2 separate regions of the Homo sapiens genome follow, and region 1 is linked to region 2. The links are contacts of gene promoters, found by promoter capture Hi-C in blood cells and fetal thymus (Javierre and others, 2016). All regions are on one chromosome and are shown on one strand. The core of a region is centred on a gene start or on the middle of the fragment in contact, and the rest is flanking DNA. Distances in the headings are between cores, read along the strand shown.

Evidence for each region. Contacts are between HindIII fragments. The CHiCAGO score rates a contact against its expected background, and 5 or more counts as called.
Region 1: a fragment that was not itself captured here is called in contact with the fragment with the promoter of DAPK2 in region 2 in 1 of 17 cell types (endothelial precursors); the score reaches 5.4 in endothelial precursors.

Annotation. Positions count from the first base shown.
Region 1 is chr15:63,460,304-63,463,429 of GRCh38, reverse strand. No RefSeq gene overlaps it. Among named protein-coding and RNA genes, the nearest start is that of USP3, 43 kb to the left of the region's middle. The HindIII fragment of the contact is 2,296 bases long and covers 372-2,667 here.
Region 2 is chr15:64,045,035-64,048,028 of GRCh38, reverse strand. It overlaps DAPK2 (death associated protein kinase 2), which reads left to right and starts at 1,544. Exons shown (of 12, transcript NM_014326.5): 1 at 1,544-1,731. RefSeq lists silencers at 1,371-1,580, 1,601-1,660, 1,691-1,910. The HindIII fragment of the contact is 10,777 bases long and covers 1-2,994 here.

The DNA.
Region 1 (3,126 bases), core at 270-2,769, 580 kb after region 2:
CATATAAAAGTGATAAAAGTGTTTCATAAACTGTGAAACACTATACAAATGTCACAGAAGGATTATTAGATACAGCAGTAAGTTCTAATTCATTATTATTCAGAATTCCAGCAACTCAGCTTGTTCTTGGCTGTGTTTTATTGACAAGGCAGCATCTGATGCCCATTGAGATTCTGCTCATTAAAGCCTGGCACAGAGTGAGGCCTCCCTGTTAGCACCCCTCCCCACCCCAGCTCCTTTGTCCTGATGTTCTTACACCCTCAGTCCAACTAGGATGGATCTCAGCTACATAGAAAAATCTCTGATAGTGGTCTCACTGCCCTTGAAAAAAGCCTAACTCTCATTCTTAAAAAAAGCTTTTGGTGAAAGCTTCATTCATACAAGAATATATATATAACGTGTAAGTATAGTTTAAGGAATAACAATAAAACAAACCGCACACTAAACTTTAGAAAAAATACTACCAGTGCCTGCAAAGCTCCTATTGTTCTTCCCTGATGCATTCTCTTCACTCTCCTATCCTCGATTTTGCATTAATCTTTCTCTTGCTTTTTATTTTTTTGAGATAGGGTCTCACTCTGTCACCTAGGCTGGAGTGTAGTGGTGTGATCATAGCTCATTACACCCTTGATCTCCCGGGCTCAACTGATCCTCCCACTTCAGCCTCCCAGGTGGCTGGGACCACAGGCACATGCCACCACACCTGTTTACTTTTTTGTTTTTATTTTTAGAGATGCAGTTTCACTATGTTACCCAGGGAGGTCCCAAACTCCTGGAGTCAAGCAATCCTGCCTCAGCCTCCCAAAGTGCTGGGATTATAGGCATGAGCCACTGCATTCAGCCTCTCCTACTTTTGAGAAAGAGCTTTACCTTATAAGTATTATCCCTAGTTTTTCTTGCCTCTAAACTTTTATCAAGGGAATCATACTGTAAGTATTCTTTTATAACTTGCTTTTCACATCTGTGATCTATGTTGATGGGTACAGCTGTAGTTTATTCATTTTCATAGCTACATAGTTTCCACTATGGGACTGTGTTAGAATTTATTCCTCCTACAGCAAATGGACATTTGAGTTGTTTCCAATTTGGGACTATTTTAAACCATGCTTGTTTATTTCTCCTACTGCCTATATATGAGAGTTAATATTTATCTAGAAGTGGAATTACTGAGTCATAAGGTATGCGTGTCTTTAATTTTATCAGATAAGGCCAAACTGTTCCAAGTGGTGGTAACAATCAACTCTCCTACCAACCATGTATGAGAATTCTCATTGTTCTACATCCTTGCCCCTGCTTGATTGCCTGTGTTTTAAATTTCTGCCAGCCTCGTGGCTGTGGAATTGTATCTAATTTTTATTTTAGTTTGCATTTCCCTTATTACTAAGGAGGCTGACCATTTTTTCATATGTTGGTGGTCTTTTTGTATTTCCTTATCCCTGAAATGCCTGTTCATGTCTTTTCCCCATTGAAAAAATTAAATTGTTCATTCTTATTGATTTGTCGAAGTTTTAAAAATAGATTCTGGACAGGAATTCTTTGCCAGGTGTAGGTGTTACAGTGATCGAGTCCAGTCTCTGGATTGTCTTCTCTGTGTCATGTTTTTTTATGACTAGAAGTTCTTAATTTTAGTGAAGTCACCCTTCCTCTTTTCCTTGAACTTTTGGTGTCTTGTTTAAGAGTGATTTTTTACCCGAGGCCCTAAAAACGGTCTGGATTTTCTTCTAAAAGTTTCAACATTCCAAATGTCTTTCTTGGGACTGCTCTGCCTACTGAGCTCCTGAATCTTTCCACAAAATGCTTCTGCAAGCCAGAGGTTATTTCTATTCCAGTGGGCCTCCTCTCTGCACAGAGGGCCCCCGAGTTCTGCCAAGTGCCCAGAGAAAGGCTCCATTCACCGGGCGGGCTGCTCTCCATGGCCGTGAGTGTCCCGCGCTCTCTGCCGACCGCGGGCCCCTAGGAGGAGCCTTTGCTCCAGGCCTGGAGCTCCCTCCCCAGGCTCCTCTTGCACCCGGCTCCTGGCCGGGGAAGGGGAGCCCTTGCCTCCTGCAGACGGTGGGAGCGGCATCTCCTTTGCACCGAGCCAGGATCTCTGCATGGGGCCACCGCACTTGGGCCTCGCTAGCCTAGTCCGGCCCCTGACCCGCTGGGGCTGGGCCCCTCTTCCCATTCCTGCTCCCTCAGTCCTGCTTTCAAATCTACTGTCTTACCTCCTGCTCGGACGCCTTTCTTGGAATTCTCTTGATTCCTCCCTTGTCTTTTAGGGAGGCCCCGCAGTAACATTCTTTTATGGGTCAGATGCTGCTGAGGTTTCAACCTATCCCAAACTGTTGCAGGATGTAACTGACGAAACTGCAGGCTCCCCAAAGGATCAGACACTAGGGAGCCACAAAAGGTACAAAACCGAAGGGGGCACCGCATGTTTCAATGTTTGATTTTGCCTCACATTTCCCGCTCCACCAGTTAATAGCTGGCTCCACGGTTTCCTCTTTCTTCAGTTTCCTTATCTGGAAGACTGAGTTAATAATCACTACCTTACAGTTTTCGTAAGGATGAAGTAAGATAACTTGGGTAAGGTTCACGGTGCCTGGCACATAATAGGGACCCACAAATATTAGTTTCTCTTTGTCTTAGTTTGAGATCCCAAAATACACAGCCAGAGGCCAAGCTTAGGCACAAATGCTTTTTTGGTTGGTTTCATCTCACGGAAGCAAGAGTGGAGAACAAAGAGAAATGAGGCAGGCAGGCAGGCAGGCAGGAACCACAGATCCAGGGAGGTGTGGAGGGGCCAGAGCAGATCAGGGGCCATGCGGGGTTTCTCTGGACAGGCTGCGTGGAGACCCTGGAGGAGAGGAGAGCACTCTACCTGCCAGTGCCTGCCCACCTCCTATCTCTCATTAATCAAAGTTCACCTTTTGGGAGGCTGATTCCCCTGCATTCTAGGCTGTTTCCCTGGGAGCCCTTCTGGAGGACTTCTCAGAAAGCCAGACCTGCCTCAGGTCTGGGTGCCTGAGCTACTGCAGCTCGTGTTGCAGCGCGAAGGATGGGAACTGCACCACACCCTGACCCTTGTCCTTAGGGGAGCCCGAAGCAACCAGTGGCATTAGTAGATGCAGTGATGGTGGTGGT
Region 2 (2,994 bases), core at 295-2,794:
AATGGAGAAATCTCCAGATGATTTCAGCCCCCAGCTATTCAGGTGTTCCCAGTTGAAATCCCAGACACTGCAGAGCAGAAATAAGCCATACACACTGTGCTGTCTGAACTTCTGTCCCTCAGAATGCATGAACATAGTGAAACTGTTGTCCTGTGCCACCAAGGCTGGTAATGGTTTGTCACCAGTGATAGGTAAATGGAAATGGAGGAAGAGGTGTTTAGGGATAGTTTGGTGGGGGACTTCTCATGTTGGTGAAACTTCACCAGTGGGTGTCATTCCCTTAGGTCCGTTGACATCAGAAACCACCTCTAGTCTTGGATATTACTCTATATATCATGCTGCTCTTAGGAGAGGAGGCTCGCTGGCTGCACTGTTCTGAATTATTGTGAAGTTTATAAACAAGGAACTCTTTGCCGAGGATGTCCTGGACCCGGAGGCACTGCTCAGCTGGGGGGTGGGGTCCATCTGTATTTGTCCCAATGTCCAAAAGGCTGAAGGGTGTGTGTGTGCTCACACTGGTAGAGGTCCTCTAGGTGCATCTTACACACTCCATCTCATCTCAGCCCCACCATAGCTTCATTAGGAGCTACCGGAAGGTGCGTTTCTCCCACTTTACTGATGAAGAAAGAGCCATGCCCAAGAACACACATGCGGAGTGGCAGGGCAGGGCTTTGAACCTGGTGGTAGGACTCTGAATCTAAGGCCCTTTTGAGGAGCCCCATGGGTGACTTAGGGATGGAAATTCCAGGGGTTGGAGGGGTCCTCATTTGCTTCCTCTAAACAGCCTCTTGTTTTGAAATAAGACAAATGAACTTGGCTTAAGTTCTGTTTTCCCTTCCTTCCTCCCTTCACCCCCTCACTCTCATTCCTTTTTTCCTCAGGGATTTTTTGGCAGAGGGCAGAGAGAGGAACCCATTCCCAAGTCCTCTATTAGAGAAGGCGTGATGGTGAGAGGGGGGCTTCACTCAGCAACCGTGCCAGGACAAAGGGCAAACGAGGGCAGGCCGCTCTCAGGCTGGGTCGGGGGCAGTGAGGAGCAGAGCGGCCCTTCTCATCGCAGCCCCCACCTTGCTGTACGCTGTGGGCTTGAGGTTTCCAGGAGAGTCTGCGGTGTAGGGAGCGCTCTGGCTGGGAGGGAGGAGACGGCCTATTCCTCAGTGGGGCTTCCTCGCTCACGGTGTGTATGGTGGGGAGAGGAGCACACAAGTACCATTTTCTGAGGATTGTGCCAGACCATGTCATACGTATAAGCTCATTCAAATCGATTTCCAGATAAGGCCGGGGGAGGGTAGCCGACTTGCCCAAGGCCACGCAGCATGTGCGCGGTAGAGCCGGTAGGGACGCGCAGAGGGTCTTGCTACCGACTCTCCCCGCTCTCCCGGGAGTCTGGGAGCCCTGAGGTGTCCCCTACCCGGCCGGGAAGCTGGGCTCTCGCCCCGGGACTGTCCGGAGGGGGCTCCAGCAGGGGGCGCCCCGAGCCCCGTCCCGGGCAGCCGGGCGCGCCTCCAGCCGGCGCCTGGGACGGGGCTGGCCGCTCCGCCCCCTCGGCTCCTAGGCTGCTCGGCGGGCGGGTGCCGGGCGCTCTGGGAGGAGAGGACTGCAGGGCCGAGCCCAGCGCACCCCGCCGCGTCCCCCGTTCCCGCCGCGCCCGCCGCGCCCGCCGCGCCCGCCGCGCCCGCCGCTCCCGCCGCGCCTGCCGCGGCCGCGACCGCGGCAGCTCAGCCTCCCGCCGTGAGTAGCACCCGTCTGCGGGCTCGATGGGCGGGACGGGGCGCGCGGCCTGACGGCAGCAGCGCCCGGGTCTGGGGCTGGCGGGGCGAAGAGATCCGGGGCACTCGCTCGCAGATCCCGGGCCCGCCGCCCCAATGCCTGACGCCGTGGCCCGGGGCATTGTGGCCGGCACCCGAGCGCGGGAGCTGCCCGCCGCTGCCCTGGGGCGCCCTCCGGAGCCTGGCACTTTGACCTGGGAGACAGGGTAGAGGCGGCGGGCAGAGCCAAGCACCCAGCAGGGAGATGGGAGACAGACGTCCATCGAGTTAGGCCCCCTGGAACGGGCAGAGCACGCCCGGCTCCCGGCCAAGTCTTCTCAGCTTGGGCTGACTCTCTCACCTCTTGCTCCCGCCTGGCACAAGGATGTGATGCGAGGAGGGTGCTCAGATGTCTGAGCTTCCTCTGGGGCTGAATGAAGCTGGGGTCCCCGCCGTCAGGCGCCCCGGCCTGGGGTAGAGCTAGGATGGGCGTGGGGGCGGCCAGCAGGTGTGCTGCAGGTTGGGGTGGAACGGCTTGGAAGGGCGTTGCCAACAGTTGACTAGGACTCTGGGCTAGGCATTTTGGAGGTCCCAAGGCTTGCATAGGTCTGGCTAACCCTCACCGTAACTCTGCACGGTGGAAATTGGTATTCTTACTTTACAAAAGAGAAAACAAGGTCCAGAGAGGTGAGCCTCGTTGAGGCCGTGCAGGTAATGGTAAGGCAGTGGTGCACACTGGAGGAGAGGGCACCATAGCTGGCTGCCTCGGGGGCAAGCGGGCAGGTGCAGGGACAGCGCCTGACATCTTGTATCCTGGAATCCTGTGGAGGGCAGCCACTCTGGTTTCTGACACTGCGACTCCCAACTGCCTCTGTGGAAGATATTCCTGGGAGAGTCCTGTTGACCTAAGAGGCCGTGGTGCCTTGGCCTCTTCACAGCTAACTTCACAGCCCTGTCCTTCCCCAAACCGCTCATCTCCCAAGATGTTTTTTGAGCACCCTCAAGTGGCACCACTGATGATTCAGCACCTTCAGAGGAGACTTGGGCAGAGGGGTCAGGGGTGTGTGGATGTGGCTGGAGGTCTGCTCCTCTGGGGTAAGTTCCTGGCTGGCAGGAATGAGACCCGCACTGACCCTGCCCACCTCCTTGAGGCCTCCCGATTTGTTAGCTGTGGGGTGAACAAGCAGGCTTCCCAAGGGAGCTGGATCTTTGCCAGAGAGACCAAGTTTTTCTTGTGTCAACTCAG